Linked DNA regions of Homo sapiens: regions 1, 2 and 3 are each linked to region 4. The links are contacts of gene promoters, found by promoter capture Hi-C in blood cells and fetal thymus (Javierre and others, 2016). All regions are on one chromosome and are shown on one strand. The core of a region is centred on a gene start or on the middle of the fragment in contact, and the rest is flanking DNA. Distances in the headings are between cores, read along the strand shown.

Region 1 (3,091 bases), core at 469-2,968, 780 kb before region 4:
TTTCGGACAAGGTACTCTCCAAACTTCAGTTTTCTTACTGATTCAGCAAACATTAAGAACCTGCTAGGTTTGGGTGCCAAGTTATGTATTGGGATATGTAGATGACAGAGATAATCAAAAACATTTAAAAATTACTTTTCAAAGCCTTTAGATCTAATCTACTTTTATGTAGTGTAAAACAGTGCTGTTTGAAGCAGCCAGTTTGTGAACTTACATGTTCTTGGTCTGTGATGAAATGAACTAGCACCAGAATGCACTGTCCTGCTTTCTTCTTTGTGAAAGTGTCTTGCTGTGAAAAGAAAGATTGAGAGCTGAACTAAATGGTGTATTTGGTGATGTAGTTGACTTTCCCTCCTCCTAGACCAGTAACACCCTTGCAGATCAATACTGTTCCATGGAGTATACTCTAAGTAGCTTTTTCTTTTTTTTTTTTGAGACGGAGTCTTGCTTTGTCGCCCAGGCTGGAGTGCAGTGGCGCCATCTCTGCTCACTGCAAGCTCCGCCTCCCAGGTTCACGCCATTCTCTTGCCTCGGCCTCCCAAGTAGCTGGGACTACAGGTGCCCGCCACCATGCCCGGCTAATTTTTTTGTATTTTTAGTAGAGACAGGGTTTCACCATGTTAGCCATGATGGTCTCGATCTCCTAACCTCATGATCTGTCCGCCTCAGCCTCCCCGAAGTGTTGGGATTACAGGCGTGAACCACCGTGACCCACCTACTTTAAGTAGCTTTTGTGTAAAGTAACCCAAGAACTACCACCAATAGTTAAATAGAAGCCATATCTTCTAGTTTTTTTTCCTCTTCTTTGCTATTATGATTTTCTTGAATTTTGCTGATTGTTTCCTTCAAAGTCTCTTTATTACAGTTTTGTCATTTTGCCTAATTGAAATGTCTAGGTATGGAAGAGTTAATTATGTTCTGGCTCGAAGAATAGAACTTTTAGAAGAAGTCAAACGATTGCAAAAGAGTCTAGGGGTTCCAGGAGATGCCTCATATACCTGTGAAACTGCAGGCTATTTCTTCTTATACCAGGTAAGATATTAAGGGTTTTTGAATCATACTTCATCATAATATGAACCCCAGTTGGAAGCTGGAATGAGTTCTTGTGATCCTTCATGAAAGCTTATTTTTTTGAGTAGATTAGAATGTATGGTATTGCAAGTGCTATATTTATGAATGTTAAGTGTATTTTGTATTATCTTCAGTTTTCTTTTCTAAATAACTTTGCTTGATGACTCATTCTGTGAAAGACCAATGTTGCTACTTTTTACATTTTTTTCTTTCTATTGGCAAAGTTCTAGTCACTCTTTTTTCTTTTTTTACTGTAGAAATACAACTAAATAAATATTCTAGCTAGCCAGTGGCAACAAAGTACAGTTAACTTTTATTGTATACATTAATCAACTAATGAAGGAAAACATTCTTCCTTCAAATTTCCAGAAATAAATTATGTCTTACAACTAATTGCACAGTGGGTCTTGAAGTTAAAGGCTTCTGACTTCAACATAAAGATGTACTTTTACTTTTGTTAGGGTAAATTTTGGAAGTGTGAAAACCAATGAGAAATAGCCAAATAAAGTGAATAAAACTAAACTTTAATAGTCAGTTGGATTATTAATAATTTTAAATGGACTAGGACATAATTGGCTAATGAAGATTTTTGTATAACTTCATTTGTTCTCTTTGTTCTAATGCCAATTGTATATTTTAGATATAAATTATAATATTGTAAGCTCATTGTAAGTGGATATCACAAACCAATTAAGTCCATTCAAAATGAGCAGCTTTCATGGTTTCTTGTGAAGCAGGGAAAATACATAATATAGTCTACATTAGATTCAAGACTGTTTAGGACTTGCATAAAGGAGTAAAGATCAGCTTAAATGCTTTTTTGACACAAAATTACTTGGCTTTCAGTGAAAATAATGTTTAAAAGTGGGAAAAATAACCTATAAATTAAGAAGGTTTATGTAATAAATTTGGGAAGAATGAACTTGAGGCTTCACAGTGTAAATTGGCAGTTTTCAACATTTAAGAATCATATCAGGAAAGTTGTTTACGAGTTAAATTCCCTAGCCCTTGTTCCTATAGCTTCTCATTCAATAGAGGTGGAATCCAGGAATCCACATTTTTATTTAGCTCCTCAGATATTTTGCATAAGGACTACACTTTTGAGAAACACTGAGATAGTAACAGAAAAAGACCTGGGAGAGTTACAGAAATTGAGGTTACATAGTAACTGGCTGGTAGACGCATAGCTAACATTATACAAAGTAATTGAACTATAATCACAAAAGTCATAAGATAAGCTTTCAAATACACACTCAGCTTAACCAGACGTTCTTTATAAATGTTCTAAAAAACTGACAGAGGGTTGACAAGTGCCAAATTGATTAAAAAGCTGCTAAAGCTGAACTTACCATATATGGAGAGAAACAGAGATGAAAAAAATGAGCAATTTCTTTGTCCAGAGAGCTTTCTTTCCTTTACATTTCTTTTAAGCGTTAATAATAAACTCTCTTGAGTTACGTGGAGAATCTGAACTGTCGGAGTTAGAGTTCTATGAGATGATGTTAAGGCTCTTTCCAGTTTGTAGAAATTTGTTATTAAAGAGCCTTTTTTTCTCCAAAGACAAGGTTACTTTTATAACAGAAGAGCAATCTGTCAGTTACAGGAATGAAGAATAGTTATATTGGATCAAAGATTGAATTTCTTTTTTTTTCTTTTTCACCTAGCAGATCTTGTTTTTATAAGATTTATTCATTTTATGCTTTAAAACATCATAATTAGCTGGCAGTTAACTTCAAGTCCTTTTTTCTACAGGTAATGTCTCGCTGGGAAGAGTATATCAGCAAAGTGAAAAATAAAGGTAGTACATTGCCAGATGTTACGGAAGTCTCCACTTTCTTCCCTTTCCATGAATACTTTGCAAATGCTCCTCAACCCATTTTTAAAGGAAGATCTTATGAAGAAGACATGGAAATTGCTGAAGGATGTTTCAGGCATATTAAGAAAATCTTTACGCAGCTTGAGGTAAGGATTCTCAAGTTCTTTGAACTTCCCTTTAGTGGTTTTTAATTTAGTTTAGTTT
Region 2 (2,733 bases), core at 110-2,609, 840 kb before region 4:
GGGGGCTGACCCCCTCACCTCCCTCCCGGACGGGGCGGCTGGCCGGGCGGGGGGCTGACCCCCCCACCTCCCTCCTGGACGGGGCGGCTGGCCGGGCGGGGGGCTGACCCCCCCCACCTCCCTCCCGGACGGGGCGGCTGGCCGGGCGGGGGGCTGACCCCCCCGACCTCAAGAGGGAGTTTATATTTGTAGTTTTACATGAATAAAAAAAGTTACCAAAGTCAAGACAGATGCTTACATTATAATTTCAATGTTCTTTTGGTTTTTTGTTTTGAGACTGAATTTAGCTCTTGTTATCCAGGCTGGAGTGCAAATGGCGTGATCTCAGCTCACTGCAACATCTGCCTCCCAGGTTCCAGCAATTCTCCTGCCTCTGCCTCCCAAGAAGCTGGGATTACAGGTGCCCGCCACCATGCCCAGCTAATTGTTGTATTTTTAGTAGAGATGGGGTTTCACCATATTGGCCAGGCTGGTCTCAAACTCCTGACCTTAGATGATCCACCCGCCTCGGCCTCCCAAAGTGCTGGGATTACAGGCATGAGTCACTGTGCCTGGCCTGTTCTTTTTGTCCTTGATTTGGGATCTATTTTTCCTTTTAGAAATTTCTAATGCACTGATGTTTCCTTTTTGTGCTGGTGCAACAGAAGCTTGATCAGTAGGGATCCAAAATCTTTGTTTTCTTTGCCCGCCATATAATGGTCACTTCATCAAGAGTTTCTTCTCTTCCAGTCAGACTTTTTTAAATGAAAAAAAGGAATGGATGCCTGTCATCTGTTTTGAGTAAATGGTCACCAAAGTGAAAAGGTGATAGAGTCTTTAAGATAAAACCATGGACACTTATCTCAAATATTCATTAAATGACTACCATCTCAGGGCACATTAGAGCTCAGAATAAACTATGGGTTTTATGTCACTATCAAGAGAGCCTAGGGGTTTCTTCAAGTTGCTTCAAGCTATTATAGAAATACAGAAAGGAAGAAGGAAAATTTTTTGAGCCAGGGAATAACCTGGTCAGTTTACCTGTTATAAAGATCACTTTGGTGATTAGGCCTTGAAATAGAGAAATGATAATACAGATTTAGAGGATATACAGAGATGTAGAAGGTAGAATTGATTGAATTTGATAATCAGTTGAAGTAGCATTAGGAAAGGGTGTTATTTTCAATAACCTTCCAGGCTTGGGCAAATGAATATAATATATGATGGTGCCATTTACCAAGATAGGTAATAGAGAGTGAGGAATAATTTGGAGGATACAAAACTGTTGAATTGAATTTGGACATATTCAGTTTAAATTGCCTTTGGAATATCTAGATTAAGTCATCTAGTAGAGGAATCTAAGGTTTGAGAGCTCAGAAGAGAAATCTGGACTGCAGATGTATATTTGGAATCATTGGTATTTAGTGGTTGAAGTAATAGAGGGAGAAGAATGAGGCTAGAACCCTACGAATATTGCGGTTTAGATAACAGGCAAAAGAAGAAGAGCCTTCAATATGGTGAAAAGGAGTTGAGAGTTAATAAGGGTCCATAGGACTTGACAGCCATACAGCTTCAGGAGAGCTTGTCTTAGAGAAGTGAATGAAAACAACTAGTATAGACCACACGCTTGGAGCATTTGTCTGTGGCAGTAACTAGAAACAGAGGTAGGTCAAAGAGGCTTGAATATATTTACATTATTTACAAGTTAAGAGTAAAGAGCTAATATAAAGCAGGAGGGGCTGTTCTTGAGATTAATTACAGTGTGAAAACTACAATTTTTGCTAAAGATGTAGTTTCTTTTGTTTAAATCAGAGAAATTAAAACACTTCAGATCCTTAATAAGAAAACAAAGCCTAAGCTAAATACAGGCATAATCCACAGAGGAAAAACTAAAGAAATGAAAGCCATTATTTTATTAGCTAAAGGGTTCTGCAGCTCTCTCATAGTCCTGTCAGAAACCTGTATTTGACTTGCCATTAATTATAAGTAAGCACGTGATGCTTCTTTTATACATATACAAATAACCCTTTTGTAATTATTTGGTTTTTTTAATAGACTGCTAAAAAGCCTACTAGGGCTTCTTTAAAGCTTAAGTGAGCAAGCCAATACAAAATGAATTTTATTCTGTTTCTTTTCAGATTTTTAAGAAGAAGCCAGACCACTTCCCATTCTTTTTTAAACACATCTTGAAGGCGGCATTAGCTGAAACTGATGGTGAATTTTCACTTCATGAACAGACAGTCTTACTACTTTTTCTTGATCATTGCTTCAATAGTTTGGTACTTTTACTTTATATTTTGGGGTAATTTTCAAGTTTTCTTGTTCTTTTAGGTTGAGTTTAGATGAAATTACCTCTGTAGCCAACTCCATTCATCCATAATAGCAGGCAATAAGGATAATGCTAAAAGCTTGATTTCAGCCACTTATCAGTAAAACCATTTTATAAGTCTTTAAGATATGTTTTTATAAGATATGTTCACTTTTTAATAGATTTGAAATTGATACTTAATTTTTTCTATCTAGACTCTTAAGAAAAATGATTATAAGAACTGAAACTCTAAAGGGAGAGCACAAAAATGAGAAGCAGCAAGGAGACTGGTTATATGGAATTGGAGTAATGAGATCTGTGCCACAAACTGCATATACATACAGGAATGTAGTTTCATTGCTTTTCATCATGCCTTATGCATAGGCTGGTTAGTCAACAGGAGAGTTGTATTTTGAGTTGACTGATAAAGGCCAAGTGTAAATGAT
Region 3 (3,089 bases), core at 105-2,604, 820 kb before region 4:
TTGTCCTGTCTCTGCCCTTGAAATAACCACAGCTGGTGTGGCATGTGGTCTATTGTATTGACACAGGCAAGGCATCATTATTGCTTCCAAGGAACTTGGCTATTTGCCCTGTTGAGGAGGCCCTAACTTTGCTTGATGCTGCTAGCATTCTCCTGAGGACTGACTTGTTTATTTCCTTGTTTACACAGTTCATTCTCATGCTTGGGTTGCAGAGTCATTTTGCCATTGTGTGTAGTAATCTCATAATCCCATGGCAAGCTCACTCATGGCAACCTTGGCAACCTTCTGTGTCATCCACCATGGAACACATGAAAACTTCCGGATCTTTTCTGTGCCATGTGGGCATCAAGGAAGACAGGGATATTATTTCAATCACTCTGTTGTTAAATCCCAAGGAAGACTAGGGATATTATCTCAGTCACTCTGTGCAATACTACTATTTCTGTTTTCTTACAGCTTACCCTATGTTGGTTGAGAGTGCTACCCTGTGAGGTCTTTTCCCAGAGTTCCAAACAAAAGCAAGGCACAAGCATAAGTTTTTTGGTCTCTCCTTCCAAGTTCTCTGCAGCCAGAGTTTCCCTTGGGACTTTCTTTTAGTCTTGTTCGACCAGTTCTTGATAATCAAGTGTGTATTTGTTTTTTGCTCCTCTTCTGTCAATAAAGCTAGCCTTTGTGGCTATTTTGTATATATTGAAAATCCTTTTAGATGTCAAAAGCTGAACGCCAACTTTATGTTTTTTACATTTCTGTTATGACAGTTGTAGTTTTTTCTCTTTTTATTATATGCTTCTGTCTGATTAAGGTAGAGGTCACATAAAAGAAGCATATAAGAGACAGAAATGCGTTAATATTTTTATAAAATATTTTCATTCTTAAATAGTAGATGTTTATATTAATATGTAGACATTAATTATTAATATTTTTTGCCATTATTTTCTAGAGAGCTGCTTTTGCACATTTTCCTGAACTCTATGATTTTGCCCTCTCAAATGTGGCAGAAGTAGATACTCGGGAGTCCTTGGTCAAGTTTTTTGGACCTCTTAGGTAAGACAACATGAAAAACTATATATTCTTTTTTTGTATCATGCTCCCTCAATTTTACTTTTCTTTATTGCTTTTAATCATTTTGCAGTACTTTAGATAATATTACTTGTTATTTCACTCTTCGTTGACGTCTACAACTAGTGCTTCTCTCCAGCAGTTTGGTGTCTTTGTCACTTACCCACGTTTGGTAAAGTTTCTGTTTTTTATGACGTATACAATTTTCTTCGATCTGAAATTTTTCTCAGAGTAGAATATAAAGCTGGTCAATCTCATCAGTCATAAACGACATATGACAAAAACCAATAAAGATTCATTATGTGTGATATTAGAGGTGTGACTTAGGGAAATTTTTGCATGTTTAAAATTTATAAAATTAGTAATATCCTCTGGCAGTTAGCTATCTGCTAATATATCCTTTTGAAAATAGTAATAATAATGGCATACATTTATTTACTATGTGATAGACGTTCTGTTAAGTGTGTAAACAACTCTGAAAACATTCATGCTAGAAGTAGGTACCATTTTACGTATAAGGTATCTGGGGCATAGAATAGTTAAGTAATTTGCCTAGGTTACACAGCAAGTAAGTGGCAGAGATACAATTTAAACCCGGATAGTGTGATTTCCAAGCCCTAACTTTTAACTACTATACTGTATCATCTCCCAGCTCTTGGGATAAATTATGTTTAGTTCCTTGACTATTTAAAATGTAATAAACTGAGGTTGGTTTGGTTGTTCATTCTCATATGAGGATTTAATATAATTAATAACACATAGATTCATTTCATTATTTTAAATAACTACATAGAGTTCCATTAAACAGGACCAGCATACTATTTTTTTATTTTTTTATTTATTTTTATTTTATTTTATTTTTTTGAGACGGAGTCTCGCTCTTTCGCCCAGGCCAGACTGCAGTGGCTCACTGCAAGTTCCGCCTCCCGGGTTCACGCCATTCTCCTGCCTCAGCCTCCTGAGTAGCTGGGACTACAGGCGCCCGCCACCACGCCCGTCTAATTTTTTGTATTTTTAGTAGAGACGGGGTTTCACCGTGTTAGCCAAGATGGTCTCGATCTCTGACCTCGTGATCTGCCCGCCTCAGCCTCTCAAAGTGCCGGGATTACAGGCATGAGCCACCGCGCCCGGCCTTATTTTTTTAAAAGTTAATCTCCTATTGGTGAGTCTTTTTTTTTGTTTTTTTTGAGACGGAGTCTTGCTCTATTGCCCAGGCTGGAGTGCAGTGGTGCGATCTCGGCTCACTGCAACCTCTGCCTCCTGGGTTCAAGTGATTCTCCTGCGTCAGCCTCCCGAATAGCTGGGACTACAGGCACACGCCACCATGCCCAGCTAATTTTTAGTAGCAAAGATGGGGTTTCACCATGTTGGCCAGGCTGGTCTCAAACTCCTGACCTCAGGTGATCCTGCCTCGGCCTCCCAAAGAGCTGGGATTAGAGGCATGAGCCACCGCTCCTGGCCTCCTTTTGGTGAATCTTTAATTTTTAAGTTTTGGCTTTTACAAACAGTTCTGCAATGAGCATCCTTTTCGTACTGATTCCTAGAAGCAGAATGGCTGATTCAAACGGGGCATGCGTTTAAAACTTGTTACATATTGCTAAATTTCCTTCAGAAAAGACTATCAATTTACACTTAAACTAACAGCGTATGAGGATTTATTTTTCTCCCTACTAATGCTGGGTAAATTGGATTTTAATTTTTTCTATTTTTATCTCATTTTACTTTGCATTTCCCTGATCTTATTTGGGAAATTAAGCATTTTTCTGTTTTTTTCTTGGCCATTTACATTTCTTCTGTAACCTTCTTATTTTCCTTTGCTATTTTGCATTTCATTGCTTGTCATCTTACTGATTTTAAAGAACTTTTAATATTTTTGGTCCTAATCCCTTTGTCTAGTTTGTGTTGCATTTATTTTCTTTCAGTTTAACTTTGTTTGTAACATCTTTTGTCATTACAGATATTTTAAATTTTTTAATGACAACTGTCATTCTTTTTAATAACTATATTAGATGCTTTATGTAGAAGTCCTT
Region 4 (2,908 bases), core at 75-2,574:
CTTTGATTGACCAGCAGATATAGAAGAATTGTTGACAAAATGCAGGCACCGAAACAAAAGTAAAAATCTTTCACCAGTCATAATTTGCCTGAGATAAGGTGTATCCAAAAGAGGCCTTGTTGACCAAAACATCTCCAGCTCAGGTTTCTGCACAATACCTTGCAGTAACATTACTGCAAAAAAGACTTTGAGCTCGTCATTGTCAGTGTCTTTCCATTTATCCATTCGCGAAAATCCTTTCGGACCCGGTGGCTTTGAAGCCAACAAGGCAGCTTGGGCATTTGTTTCTCTAGTAATTTTTGAAACTAATTCCTCAGTAAAGAACAGTTCAAAATACTGCAATGGGTCAGTGATATCACTGACATCGACTTTTCTGCCAGGTGTGCCGGTAAAGTCATACCTTTGACGTGGAATCATAGCACGAGCTGACCATTTCATGGAGCGCCCTGAGTCACTTGATGTAGAGCTCTTTCCATCAGATTCTAAATGGGACAGAGGCCTGATCTTATCGGCTTCTAAAGCACTATCCGAAAAATTATCAGAATCATCTATTTCCGAAAAATCAGATTCATCAAATGAATCTTCAGCCAACAACTGTTCGAGACCGGTATTACTATCACGCATAGGAATGCTACGTTTTCTAGGATTTGACATTTCAGCGATCGAGAATTACTATATTTTGTAGATGGAAATCCCACTACTAAAAACAGAATGCTATAAACAGAATGATGTCTTTTGTTTCAAAAGTCAATATACCAGAACCATGCGAAAATAACAGAAGCGAGATATTTCGTGGCAAACTTTGGGAGTAAGGTTGGCACTGTAATCCACGAGTTATCTCGGCGTAAACGCTGCAGTCGCAGGCACAGCAGCGCGTAATCTCGGGGCTAAGGAGAAATGAGTTAAACGCACACAGACAGAAGAAGCCTTTCATCTCATACGTCTTGGGGAGTCTCTAGAAGTTTTTTGAAAGGTCTCTTCTGGATGGTGTTTCTCCCGAAGCCAGTCTCGTCATCTTTTACTCCCGTGAGGTCCTTGGCCTCCGTGGCTGCCGCAGCAACACACACTTGACTTTCACTTCATGGGCAGTCCCCTTCATAGGCACTTGACACAGGCTCTGTGCGCCGTCTTCCAATCCAGAGTGCCGGGAGTTAAGGGCAGTACTTCCGCCTTACTTCCGCCTCGCTAGTCGATCGGCCATGATCTCTTCCCTCTGGTTGGATCCCACAGCTTATGACAGAAACGGGCGCGCAGTGATGACAACATCAAGCCGCCAGCGGCGGCGGTGGCGGCCGGGAGACTGGGAGGGCTTCCGGGGCTGCCGGTCTGAGTGCAGAGCTGCTGTCATGGCGGCCGCTCTGTGGGGCTTCTTTCCCGTCCTGCTGCTGCTGCTGCTATCGGGGGATGTCCAGAGCTCGGAGGTGCCCGGGGCTGCTGCTGAGGGATCGGGAGGGAGTGGGGTCGGCATAGGAGATCGCTTCAAGATTGAGGGGCGTGCAGTTGTTCCAGGGGTGAAGCCTCAGGACTGGATCTCGGCGGCCCGAGTGCTGGTAGACGGAGAAGAGCACGTCGGTTTCCTTAAGTGAGCATCCTGAGGGCAGCGGGAAAAAGGCTGGGATGGAGGCCGGACAGGGACCCCACCAGGAGAGTTAAGTGTCAGGACGGGACAACGTCGCTGTCTCAGACTGAAGGGGAGGGTGCCGCTAACGGTCTATGCCGGGAGACCTTGGGAGGCAGTCGGATGCTTTCCCTTTCCTGGTCCTGTACCTCTGGAATGAGCATGGCAGGCGCTCACCCCCTGCCATGGTCAGAGCATGGAGTCAGTTATTTCCAACCTTATTTTGGCCCCATGTGGGGACGATCATTCCTGGGCCCTGGGGACAGGTGGACCCTTATTAGTCTCTTGTTGGATTCTTTTATATCTCATCTGGTTTCCCTAGAACCTAGTCGTTTTTTGCATTCACTTCAGTCTTTTGGTAGCTTGTTATTATGTAGAAAGATGCGACACAAGTGGGAATTCTCAAAACCCAAAGGGCTTCTAGTGACGACATAGACTGGGAGGCTAATGTTACTGCTTCTAAAATTAATAGGCTCTGAAATCCCTAATCAAAGCACTTTTTTTTTCTTTTTTTTTTTGCTTGGGGGTGGGATCGTTGTTCTTTTTTACAGTTGAATTCATCGAGAGATTTGCTATATCACACTTGTCATTTATGTGAGACTAGGGTTCCTCTACATTGCTTTCTTGCTTCTGTCCTTTCATGCTATTAGTGGAAGTGGGTTTTCTGTCTATATTAAAAGACAGGATGAATTTGTTAGCACTAGTTTTGCAGCAGCCTGCTTTTGAAATGTCTAGGCACGCGTATGTTGTTTTAAATCTTTCCACCCTTACTTGGAGGTGAAACTGTAAACTGAAAGCAAATAATTAGGAAGTATTTCCTTTGGTGGGTTCGTACACCAGCAAATGGTATCTGAAAATCAGACAACTTAAATGTAGACATTTAAATCCAAATCTGATTTACATATTTGTTCAGATCATCTAAGTGCCCTTGAGTGGTTATTCAACCTCAGATTAATAAATAGTGACAAATTTACAACCAGTATTTTACTGCTGTCTGTCATTAAGAATCTGGCATTAGGGCATTCGTTAGAGTTTACCCTAATTAATGATGTTTTAATGATAAAGTTCTCATTAAGCTTTAGGAATAAGCCTTAATTGACCATTTGGCCACTCTTCTGTATACAGTTCTTTTAAAAAGCATTTAATTTCTGTTTAAAAATAGTATATTAGAAACAAAGTAGGAAAACAACCCTTAATGTTTCATTGTATCTTTCTTTTTATTTTTTTGAGACAAGGTCTTTTTCTGTTACTCAGCCTGGAGTGCAGTGGCGAGATCATAGTTCATGGCAG

What was found. The method cuts DNA at HindIII sites, captures the fragments that hold promoters and counts their contacts. A CHiCAGO score of 5 or more calls a contact.
Region 1: a fragment that was not itself captured here is called in contact with the fragment with the promoter of EMC7 in region 4 in 1 of 17 cell types (non-activated CD4 T cells); the score reaches 5.8 in non-activated CD4 T cells.
Region 2: a contact is called between a fragment that was not itself captured here and the fragment with the promoter of EMC7 in region 4, in 3 of 17 cell types (total CD4 T cells, activated CD4 T cells and fetal thymus). The highest score is 6.2, in total CD4 T cells.
Region 3: a fragment that was not itself captured here is called in contact with the fragment with the promoter of EMC7 in region 4 in 1 of 17 cell types (naive CD4 T cells); the score reaches 6.0 in naive CD4 T cells.

What each region holds. Positions count from the first base shown.
Region 1 is chr15:34,884,467-34,887,557 of GRCh38, reverse strand. AQR (aquarius intron-binding spliceosomal factor) reads left to right here. Exons shown (of 35, transcript NM_014691.3): 25 at 897-1,032; 26 at 2,824-3,033. Among named protein-coding and RNA genes, the nearest start is that of AQR, 84 kb to the left of the region's middle. The HindIII fragment of the contact is 1,187 bases long and covers 1,125-2,311 here.
Region 2 is chr15:34,943,813-34,946,545 of GRCh38, reverse strand. It overlaps AQR (aquarius intron-binding spliceosomal factor), which reads left to right. Exons shown (of 35, transcript NM_014691.3): 6 at 2,118-2,258. Among named protein-coding and RNA genes, the nearest start is that of AQR, 25 kb to the left of the region's middle. The HindIII fragment of the contact is 1,420 bases long and covers 650-2,069 here.
Region 3 is chr15:34,924,990-34,928,078 of GRCh38, reverse strand. AQR (aquarius intron-binding spliceosomal factor) reads left to right here. Exons shown (of 35, transcript NM_014691.3): 13 at 941-1,044. Among named protein-coding and RNA genes, the nearest start is that of AQR, 43 kb to the left of the region's middle. RefSeq lists a silencer at 1-271. The HindIII fragment of the contact is 5,060 bases long and covers 1-3,089 here.
Region 4 is chr15:34,100,278-34,103,185 of GRCh38, reverse strand. It overlaps EMC7 (ER membrane protein complex subunit 7), which reads left to right and starts at 1,324. Exons shown (of 5, transcript NM_020154.3): 1 at 1,324-1,582. The coding sequence starts at 1,347. PGBD4 (piggyBac transposable element derived 4) reads right to left here and starts at 1,103. Exons shown (of 1, transcript NM_152595.5): 1 at 1-1,103. The coding sequence starts at 654. RefSeq lists enhancers at 894-983, 1,014-1,713, 1,323-2,180. The HindIII fragment of the contact is 6,792 bases long and covers 1-2,696 here.